Linked DNA regions of Homo sapiens: region 2 is linked to region 1. Evidence: promoter capture Hi-C in 16 types of primary human blood cells and fetal thymus (Javierre and others, 2016). All regions are on one chromosome and are shown on one strand. The core of a region is centred on a gene start or on the middle of the fragment in contact, and the rest is flanking DNA. Distances in the headings are between cores, read along the strand shown.

What was found. The method cuts DNA at HindIII sites, captures the fragments that hold promoters and counts their contacts. A CHiCAGO score of 5 or more calls a contact.
Region 2: a fragment that was not itself captured here is called in contact with the fragment with the promoter of PTPMT1 in region 1 in 1 of 17 cell types (neutrophils); the score reaches 5.2 in neutrophils.

What each region holds. Positions count from the first base shown.
Region 1 is chr11:47,562,316-47,567,752 of GRCh38, reverse strand. PTPMT1 (protein tyrosine phosphatase mitochondrial 1) reads right to left here and starts at 2,154. Exons shown (of 4, transcript NM_175732.3): 1 at 1,957-2,154; 2 at 1,767-1,847. The coding sequence starts at 2,130. It also overlaps a transcript of CELF1 not described here. RefSeq lists silencers at 1,643-1,722, 1,853-2,332 and enhancers at 1,642-2,142, 2,143-2,643. The HindIII fragment of the contact is 17,352 bases long and covers 1-5,437 here.
Region 2 is chr11:47,248,435-47,253,871 of GRCh38, reverse strand. It overlaps ACP2 (acid phosphatase 2, lysosomal), which reads left to right and starts at 5,058. Exons shown (of 11, transcript NM_001610.4): 1 at 5,058-5,196. The coding sequence starts at 5,083. It also overlaps a transcript of NR1H3 not described here. RefSeq lists a silencer at 4,615-4,782 and an enhancer at 4,863-5,372. The HindIII fragment of the contact is 3,279 bases long and covers 1,219-4,497 here.

The DNA of each region.
Region 1 (5,437 bases), core at 905-3,404:
CCCTATCTCCATAAAAAATACAAAAATTAGCCAGGCATGCTGGCAGGCACCTGTAATTCCAGCTACTTGGGAGGCTGAGGCAGGAGAATCACTTGAACTGGGAGGCAGAGGTTGCAGTGAGCTGAGATTGCACCATTGCACTCCAGCCTGGGCAAGGGAGTGAGACTCCATCTCAAAAAAAAAAAAAAAAAAAGAAAAGAAATAGAAATAAGGTCTCTGGCAACTGGGCAAACTTTATGCTTTAAGACTTCAGATATGCTCCAGCTACTCTTGTTATTAACCTCTTAATAATGAGTATCAGAGACTTTATGGTTCTAAATGAAGATCAGTAATTCTTTTTTTTTTTTGAGACGGAGACTCACTCTGTCGCCCAGGCTGGCGTGCAGTGGTGCAATCTCGGCCCACTGCAACTTCTGCCTCCCGGGTTCAAGCGATTCTCCTGCCTCAGCCTCCCAAGTAGCTAGGATTACAGGCGCCTGCCACCACGCCCGGCTAATTTTTTTGTGTGATTTTAGTACAGACGGGGTTTCACCATTTTGGCCAGGCTGATCTCAAACTCCTGACCTCAGGTGATCCACCCACCTCAGCCTCCCAAAGTGCTGGGATTACAGGTGTGAGAGCCACCACGCCTGGCCAAGTCACAAATATTTTCAAGGTTTCAAAAAAATCCTCAGGTTGAAATAATAGTATCTTCATCATGCTATATCAGTAAAACAAATGAGAAAGATAATTGTTTAGTGCTATTAGATGCCAAACGCTATAAAGATAGGGCAACATTAAAAAAAAATCAAATAGCTCAGATTGTAGATAACATCTTCTAATAACCATTGTGGAAGATTCCACAAACAGGCCAGTCACATTTAATGAAAGTTATGTTTTAGGCCTAAACTTTGTTATGAGAGAACTTTGGAGTTCCACCATGATTTCTAATATATGACTAAAAATTCCCCCAAATCAGAGCCAAATGAACTCTACAGTTTTCAATGGATAGTTTTATGAAAAATCTGGGGAGGGGAGAGTGTTAAGGGGGTGCTTTTCGTCTTACAGTTGGCAGGGCCTTCATCTGGAATCCCTAACACTGGGAATGCTGACCCATACTCAGAGCTCAAAGTATAGAAAGAATGAATGAAATCAGGAAGGCATGGGAAAGTTGCCTTTCAATTTTAGTTTCTGATTTTGGTTACCGAAATAAGAATACATTACATTTGTTCACAAAGGAGAAATCAGGCTTTGTCAACTTCCACTTTTTTTTTTTTTTTTTTTGAGACATTGTTTCACTCCTGTCGCCCAAGGCTGGGCTGGAATGCAATGGCGAGATGTCGGCTCACTGCAACCTCCACCTCCCGGGCTAAAGTGATTCTCCTGCCTTAGCCTCCCAAGTAGCTGGGAGTACAGGCGCACGCCACCACTCCCGGCTACTTTTTGTATTTTTGTAGGGACGGGGGCCTCGCCATGTTGCCCAGGCTGGTCAGGAACTCCTGGGCTCAAGTGATCTGCCCGCCTCCTCCTCCCGCCTCCCAAAGTGCTGGGATTACAGGCGTGAGTCCCCGCGCCCGGCCCAACTTGAACTTTTAAATAAACGCCTTTCACAGCTTCTAGCCTACCTCCAGGTGCCATTTAGAGGCACAGACCGGAGGCAAAGCAGCTTGAGACACCTGGCTCCGGTGCATGGTGACCTCCCCCACACTTCTCTAGCCGTCCCAGGCTCAGGGCGGTGGGCGAGGGGGAGCGGGCCCCCGAGCCTGCCCCTCGGCCCGGTCCCTCACCTGTGAAGAGTTGCACAGGAACCTCGTCTCGTACTCCTCGTTCATGGTGATCACCCCGCGCACGTTCTCGTCCTGTACCAGCTGCCGAGGCAAAGAGGTGGCTCAGCAAAGACGGTGGAGACCCCAGCGGCCCGACAGGGACGGAGCGGCGGGGACGGGGCAGGGGCCCGGGCTCCCCGGCCCGGCTCACCTGGCGCGTCAAGCTCCGCAACGGCAGCGCGCCCAGCAGCACGGTGGGGTCGATGCGGTGGTACCAGTCCCGGTGCGCCCGACCCGGCACCTTCCCGCGGAACAGGGTGTAGAGCAGCGTCGGGTAGAAGAGCACCCGCGCCAGGCCGGCCTCCAGCAGCGCGGTGGCCGCCATCCCGGCCCGGCGCAGCGGCGACCCGTCGGCCCCCGCGCTCGCGGTCCGGACCCGCGAGAAGAGCAGGCGGGTGCCGGGGCGGGGCTGCCAGCTGCACTAGGCCTCTCGCGGGCTCGCACCGGGTGACGGCGGGGACTGGCCTGGACTCTGGGGGACTGGCGGGACTCTGGAGGAGGGCCCGGCGGCCTCGGAGGAGGGACCGAGGTTTCCTGGGCGGGAAACTGGGACCCCGGCGAAGGGAGAGCGCGTCGCAGGCCAGACACGTGTGAGCCCTGTAGCGTGGGAAACTGAGGCCCCCGCCTGTGGCCGGTGACCTCCCTCCTCCGAGGGAGGGGGGTTGTGACCCCAGGTGAGAGGGGCAGGAAGGACCCCTGCGTGTGGAACTGTGACTCCGGCCGAGGGAGGAGGGGACACTCCCCCCAACCCTCGACCAGAGGAAGGGGGCAGTGACCCAGGTGCGGGTGTGACCCCGCCAAAGGGAAGACAAGACAAGGAGAGGCTGTGTGGCGGGGTAGCCCTGAAGAGGACAGTGGAAGGGCTTAGAGCTTTCAAACAGAGGAGCTACCTGGGTGAGGGCCTGATCCCAGGGTGAACAGGGGTCCTGGGTTGAGGTCGCCTTCCTCCTCCCCTCCCCTGTCCTAGGGCAGGGCTCCCTCCTTCATCTGACCAAACAGCAGTGTTTACATAGCAGGAAAAAATAGGAAAATATACATTATATTAATATATCCTTAAGAAAAATATTATGAAGAGCTCAAATATAAAACCTGCAACCTACAAAAAGGTAAGAAGAATGGTTGTAATGCCAGCTATTTACTTTTTGTTTGTTTGTTTTGAGACGGAGTCTCACTCTGTTGCCCAGGCTAGAGGGCAGTCGCAAGATCTCAGCTCACTGCAACCTCCGCCTCCCGGGTTCAAACGATTCTCCTGCCTCAGCCTCCTGAGTAGCTGGGATTACAGGTGCATGCCACCACACCCAGCTAACTTTTGTTTTTAGTAGAGACGAGGTTTCACCTTGTCAGCCAGGCTGGTCTCGAACCTAAGGTGATCCGCCCACCTCAGCCTCCCAAAGTGCTGGCATTACAGGCATGAGCCACTGCACCCGGCCCAAGCATCTGGTGGAGTTTTTGTTTTTTGTTTTTTGTTTTTGAGACAGAGTTTCACTATTGTCACCCAAGCTGCAGTGCAATGGCGTGATCTCAGCACACTGCAACCTCTGCCTCCCAGGTTCAAGCAATTCTCCTGCCTCAGCCTCCCGAGTAGCTGGGATTACAGGTACATGTCACCACGCCCAGCTAAGTTTTGTATTTTTAGTGAGATGGCTTCAACATGTTGACCAGGCTGGTCTCAAACTCCTGACCTCAGGTGATCCATCCCCCTGGCCTCCCAAAGTGCCAGGATTACAGGCATGAGCCACCGCGCCCGGCTTTCTTTTTTTTTTTTTTTTTTTTTTTGTATTTTTAGTAGAGATGGGGTTTCACCATGTTGGCCAGGCTAGTCTTGAACTCCTGACCTATGGTGATCTGCCAGCCTCAGCCTCCCAAAGTGTTGGGATTACAGGCATGAGCCACACGCCCGGCCCAAGCATCTGGTGGAGATTTTGTTTGTTTGTTTGTTTTTAAGATAGAGTTTCACTCTTGTCACCCAAGCTGGAGTGCAATGGCGTGATCTCAGCTCACTGCAACCTCTGCCTCCCAGGTTCAAGCAATTCTCCTGCCTCAGCCTCCCGAGTAGCTGCCACCACGCCCAGCTAAGTTTTGTATTTTTAGTAGAGACAGGGTTTCACCATGTTGGCCAGACTGGTCTCAAAGTCCTGACCTGAGGAGATCCGTCCCCCTCGGCCTTCCAAAGTGCCGGGATTACAGGCATAAGCCACCATGCCCGGCCCATCTGGTGGTTTTAAAAGATTCATTTTCTTTTTTTTATATTTTGTTTTTGAGACGGAGTCTCCTTCTATTGACTAGGCTGAAGTGTAGTGGCGCCATCTCCACTCACTGCAACCTCCACCTCCCGGGTTCAAGCAGTTCTCCTGCCTCATCCTCCCCAGTAGCTAGAACTACAGGTGCCCGCCACCATGCCTGGCTAATTTTGTGTGTGTTTTTAATAGAGATGGGGTTTCACCATGTTGGCCGGGCTGCTCTTGAACTCCTGACCTCAGGTGTTCCACCCGCCTTGGTCTCCCAAAGTGCTGGGATTACAGGCATGAGCCACCGCACCCAGCCTAATTTTAGAATATTTTCATTGCCCTCAAAATAAGCCCCTTATGAATTAGCAGAGACTCACCATTTTCTCCCAATCATCCTCCAGCCTTAGGCAAACACTACTAACCTGCTTTCTGACTGTATAGATTTACATGTTTAGCATGTTGAGGGCATTTCTTCTTTTTACTTTTCTTTTTTTTTTTTCTAGGAAACAGGGTCTCACTGTCACCCAGGCTAGAGTGCAGTGGCAGCGTGATCATGACTCACTGTAGCCCCGACCTTTTGGGTGCAAGCAGTCCTCCTACCTCAGCCTCCCAAGGAGTTGAGACTACAGACGTGTGCCACGATACCTGGCTAATTTTTTATTATTTGTAGCGATGGGGTCTCACTATGTTGCCCAAACTGATCTCGGGACTGGGCACAGTGGCTCACACCTGTAATCCCAGCACTTTGGGAGGCGGAGGCAGAGGCAGGCAGATCACCTGAGGTCAGGAGTTTGAGACCAGCCTGGCCAACATGGTGAAACCCCGTCTCTACTAAAAAAATACAAAAATTAGCCAGGTATAATAGTGGGCGCCTGTAATCCCAGCTACTTGGGAGGCTGAGGCAGGAGAATCACTTGAACCCAGGAGGCGGAGTTTGTGATAAGCCAAGATCGCGCCACTGCACTTCAGCCTGGGTGACAGAGTGAGACTCCATATCAAAAAAAAAACAAAACAAAACAAAAAAAAACTGATCTGGAACTCCTGGGCTCAAACAATCCTCCTGATTTGGCCTCCCAAAGTACTGGGATTACAGGTCTGAACCACTGCATCCAGCCTAGGGTATTTCAAATAAATGGAGTCATACAATATGTGTTCTTTGTATCTGGCTGCTTTTTTTTTTTTTTTTTTTTGAGATAGAGTTTCACTCCTGTTGCCCAGGCTGGAGTGCAATGGTGTGATCTTAGCTCACTGCAACCTCTACCTCCTGGGCTCAAGCAATTCTCCCACCTCAGCCTCCTGAGTAGCTGGGACCACAGGTGCGTACCACCACACCTGGTGGCGAATTTTTGTATTTTTGGTAGAGACAGGCTTTCACCATATTGCCCAGGTTGGTCTCGAACTCCT
Region 2 (5,437 bases), core at 1,609-4,108, 310 kb after region 1:
ACCAGCCCACAGTTGTTAGGTCCAAAGTCCCCCAGTCCTATGGGCCTCTTCTGTGTTTCCTTGGCTCCTGCAGGAGGCAATGTCTCTGGGAACACACTCGGGGATCTACCAAGTCACATATCTGGCCCCCCAGAACCTCCACAGGTTTCTTCTCACAGCAAGGAGAAACTTGAAGCAGAAACAGGAGCATTCACCAGCCATGGTCACAGGTAGTACTGGCTAACTGCCCTGAAAGTACTCATTCCCATGAAGCAGGCCACAGGGTAAGGTCTGCAGGGATGGACCAGGAGAACTGCTTCTTGTTCCCTCCTTCACCGTTCTGGAAGGGTGGAAAGTGCAGGGATCATCTTGCAGACCACTGCGTATCTACTCAAGTGACTTCTGCCCAACCTTCCAATCACAACATAGAGAATAATCCAGAAACCTGGATTCCCAGACCTGAGTTCAGAGATGATACAGAAGGCAGAAAGGAAAGATGTGACATTTATTTCATCCCTACTACATACATTTATCTTTACATGCATTATTTCATTTATTCTCACAGTAAACTCTAGGAGATAGTTACTAGCAAGGGGCAAATATCAAATTTGAATACAGGTATAAGACTGGGTGTGGTGGCTCACACTTGTAATCCTAGCACTTTGGGAGGCCAAGAAGGGCAGATCGCTTGAGTCCAGGAGTTTGAGACTAGCCTAGGCAACATGGCGAAACCTCACCTTTACAGAAAACACACACACGCACAAAAATTAGCCAGGCGTGGTGGCATCTGCCTGTAGTCCCAGCCACTTGGGGGGCTGAGGTAGGAGGACTGTTGGAGCCCAGGAGGTCGAGGCTGCAGTGAGCCATGATTGCACCACTGCACTCCAGCCTGGGTGACAGAGGGAGACTGTCTCAAAAAAAAAAAAAAAAAAAGAATACAAGTTTAGCTGATTCAAAAGTTTGAGCTCAAGCTCAAACAAACAAAAATCACAAATACACTCCATTATATAAAACTGCCGGCTGGGGCCGGGCGCAGTAGCTCATGCCTGTAATCCCAGCACTTTGGGAGGCCGAGTGGGTGGATCACTAGGTCAGGCTAACACGGCGAAACCCTGTCTCTACTAAAAATACAAAAAAAAAAAGCCAAAAAAATTAGCCAGGTGTGGTGGCAGGTGCCTGTAGTCCCAGCTACTCGAGAGGCTGAGGCAGGAGAATGGCGTGAACCTGGGAGGTGAAGCTTGCAGTGAGCCGAGACTGTGCCACTGCACTCCAGCCTGGGCGACAGTGGGAGACTCTGTCACAAAAACAAAACAAAACAAACAAAAAAAACAGCCGGGTGGGTGCGGTGGCTCACACCTGTAATCCCAGCACTTTGGGAGGCCAAAATGGGCAGATCACCTGAGGTCGGGAGTTCGAGACCAGCCTGACCAACATGGAGAAGCTGTCTCTACTAAAAATACAAAATTAGCCAGGCGTGGTGGCACATGCCTGTAATCCCAGCTACTCGGGAGGCTGAGGCAGGAGAATCGCTTGAACCCGGGAGGCGGAGGTTGCTGTGAGCCGAGATAACGCCATTGCACTCCAGCCTGGGCAACAAGAGCAAAACTCCATCTCAAAAACAACAACAACAACAACAACAACAACAAAACAAAACAAAAACTGCCTCTTCAGATGGAAAAAAAATGGCTAACATACCTGGATTTAGGTTTGCTTCTGCCAACACAGAATATGGTAGTGGTTCCTGTCCTCACCTTCAGAGATTCTGATTTATTTGATCTGGGATAGGCCCACATATCCATCTATCTACATGTGTTTTTTTTTTTTCTTTTTTTTTTTTGCACCTGTAGTTACGAACCAAAGTGTAAGAACCACAGAATCATCTGGCAGAAAATGCAAAAGCTGAAGGCAAAGGGGTGAAGAAACTAGGGCTCAGCTTCAGGCTCTACTATCTACTTGCGCTGTAATCCCCACCCTTCCTGGAATAGTTTCTCCCTATAAAAACTGAAATAGTATCTGCTTCATCAATCCCTCCTACGTGGGATACTTGCATGCACAAAGAATATAGACATATTTGAGCAAGTGGGAAGAAAAGCAAAAGCTGAATTTGAGAGATAGCTGAAATTTGGTGAGCCAAAGATTTACACTCTGAAAGTACAATGGTCTGGCTAGTTTGCAAGGAGTAAGAGGCCCATTAAAACAAAACACTCAACTGCCTCCCACTACCACTAATATGCAGCATTTTGCCAATTACCCAAGCCCTCTTTATTTTATTTTTTTTTTTGAGACAGAGTCTCGCTCTGTTGCCCAGGCTGGAGTGAAGTGGCACAATCTCGGCTCACGGCAGCCTCTGTATCCTGGGTTCAAGTGATTCTCCTGTCTCAGCCTCCCCGGTAGCTGGGATTACAGGCACACGCCACCACGACTGGCTAATTTTTGTATTTTTAGTAGAGATGGGGTTTCACCATGGTGGCCAGGCTGGTCTTGAACTGCTGACCTCAGGTGATCCACCCGCCTCGTCCTCCCAAAGTGCTGGGATTACAGGTGTGAGCCATGTCCGGCCTAGGTCCCGTTTAGTCCAACTAATTTGAAAAGGTTTCCTTTGACAGATACCTCTTTATTGAAAGGATTTCGGGATCACCAATTACAGTTTAGTAATGCAGTTTGAGTAGCCTGCAAGAAGCAGCCCATTATAGACTATTTAACTGAAAATCACAAAACCTGACTTTTTTTTTTTGAGACGGAGTCTTGCTCTGTCGCCCAGGCTGGGGTGCAGTGGCACGATCTCCGCTCACTGCAAGCTCCGCCTGCTGGGTTCACGACATTCTCCTGCCTCAGCCTCCTGAGTAGCTGGGACTACCGGCACCTGCCACCACACCCGGCTAACTTTTTGTATTTTTAGTAGAGATGGGGTTTCACCATGTTAGCCAGGATGGTCTTGATCTCCTGACCTCGTGATCCACCCGCCTCGGCCTCCCAAAGTGCCGGGATTACAGGCGTGAGCACGCACCCGGCCAAAACTTGACTTTTAATCCATTCTCAAACTGTGCCCATGCCCAAACTGTGAATTTGGGCAAGTCACTTCCTCTCTTTAGGTTTGTTTCCTAAGCTGTAAAGTAAGAGGACTAGGTTAAATCAGGTATTCAGAGATGCTGATTTATGAAACCTGTAATAAATGGTCTTTGTGAACCATTTGGGATTATATGCAAAATTCCATGTGTGTGTTTATATGTGTGAACATTTTTCTGGAGGAGAGGTGCAAAATTTTCATGTGATTCATAAAGGGGCTTGTGATTAAATAAGAAGGTTAAGAACTGTTTGGCTACCCAGGCTTTGGCTCTTACTCTATTTGCTTCTTGGCCTCCTCCATGACAACTCTGGAAGCAAAGTTTAAATCCTGAAGTATATATAAATAATTGAATCTGGAGTCCTAGGACAAAATAAAGACAGATAATCCTGATCTTTTTTTTTCTTTTCTTCTTTTTGAGACACAGTCTTGCTCTGTCATCTAGACTGGAGTGCAGTTGCACCATCATGGCTCACTGCAGCCTCAACCTCCTGGGCTGAAGGTGATCCTCCCACCTCAGCCTCCCGAGGAGCTAGGACCACAGGTGTGTGCCACCACACCCAGCTAATTTTTAAACTTTTTTTTGTAGAGAGGAGATCTTCCTAAGCTGCTCAGGCTGGTCTCCAACTCCTGGGCTCAAGCAATCTTCCCACCCTGGCCTCCCAAAGTGCTGGGATTAGAAACGTGAGCCACCACACCAAGCCTAATCAGGTTTTTGTTGTTGTTGTTTTGAGACAGTCTCACTCTGTCGCGCAGGCTGGAGTGCAGTGGCGTGATCTCAGCTCACTGCAACCTCCGCTTTCCGAGTTCAAGCGATTCTCCTGCCTCAGCCTCCAGAGTAGCTGGGATTACAGGAGCACGCCACTGCACCCGGCTAATTTTTTTTTTTTTGTATTTTTAGTAGAGACGGGGTTTCGCCACGTTGGCCAGGCTGGTCTCGAACTCCTGACCTCAGGTGATCTGCCTGCTTCGGCCTCTCAAAGTGCTGGTATTACAGGTGAGCCACGGCGCCCAGGCCAAGCCTGATCAGTTTTGTTTCCCAAAGATCTGAGGAGATTTGCTTCCAGTAGGCAGATCTGAATCAAAGCATCCCCAGGACCTATGATCTGACCTGCAACCGTCACAGGAGTCACAAAGTCCTGAGGCCAAACTGGCTGCACCTGAATCCTAATGGTCAATGCCAAGAGGGCCATTGATTCTGTGGAAACCCCACCTACTCCCACTTTATGATATGCGCCTGTCCCTTACCTCAAAATACCTCCCCACTGGTCTGAAATTCCTCCCCCAGGGATTCAGTGCTTTGGGTTTGTAAAGTCTGAACATCCTGTGCAACCCAACTCCTTTGGGAAGAGGCATGACATGACGTCTTGACTCTAATTAACTAAAACTTGGAAGTGGAGGGGAGGGAGGACAGGGAAAGGACTGGAAGGGAAAGTGAGAGGGCTACTGAAGCTTTGTGCAGGGCAGGAACGGTAGGCCAGACTGGGGCAACCTCAAGGACACACGGAGTCCAAAGGGTTGTTTACATACTGTGTCCTGCACCCCAAGCAAAACATCTCCTGGAGAACAGGGCCAGGGCTCAATCTCCCCACAAAGGCAGGGGCGTGGAGAGAAGCGACCTCTACTTTCCCATCCCTCGCCTCAATTCTGCACCCGATCTAGCTATGGGGTCAAGCCTGGAGGGGACGCTGGTTCTCCAGACATGGTCCCGCCCACTGCAAGTGCCACCTTGGTAAGGGATTTCTCCGAGCAGAGGCAAACGCGAATTTGTGGCCTTCTTAATCAAGATGAGGTCTTCGAGCCCTGTCTGCCGCGCCAGGTCGCGTTACCTTCTTATGCTCCTCCGCCACAGCCAGACCACGACCCTCCTGCACGCAATCCCACCGAGACTGCGCCTTTTCCCCGCACCCCAGCAGGTCCCTAAGTAAGATGGCGGCGAACGCACTTCCGGCGTGTGTCCTTACGGGTGCGTCCGGGCGGCTGCTTGCAGGTGCCACCCAGCGGGTTCCAGCTTGTTTGCTGCATAGATTACAACGGTGATGGCGGGCAAGCGGTCCGGCTGGAGCCGGGCGGCTCTCCTCCAGCTCCTTCTCGGCGTGAACCTGGTGGTGATGCCGCCCACCCGGGCCCGGAGTCTGCGCTTCGTTACCTTGGTAATGAGAGATGGGCTCACCAAAGACTTCCCTGAAGCTAAAAGGGCAAAGGCCAGCTGGTGGAGGTCGAGGATCTCGGGAAGGAACAGCTGGTTTAGGAGGGGACGACTGGCCTGGGTAGTTGGGAGGCTGGATTCAGGATTGACCTGGAGCCCTGGCTTATGGGAGTCAGGATGACCGAATACGTCGGGGTGAGTCTGCCTTGAGACAGGGAAGTGGTTGAATGGTTAAGACTCATCCC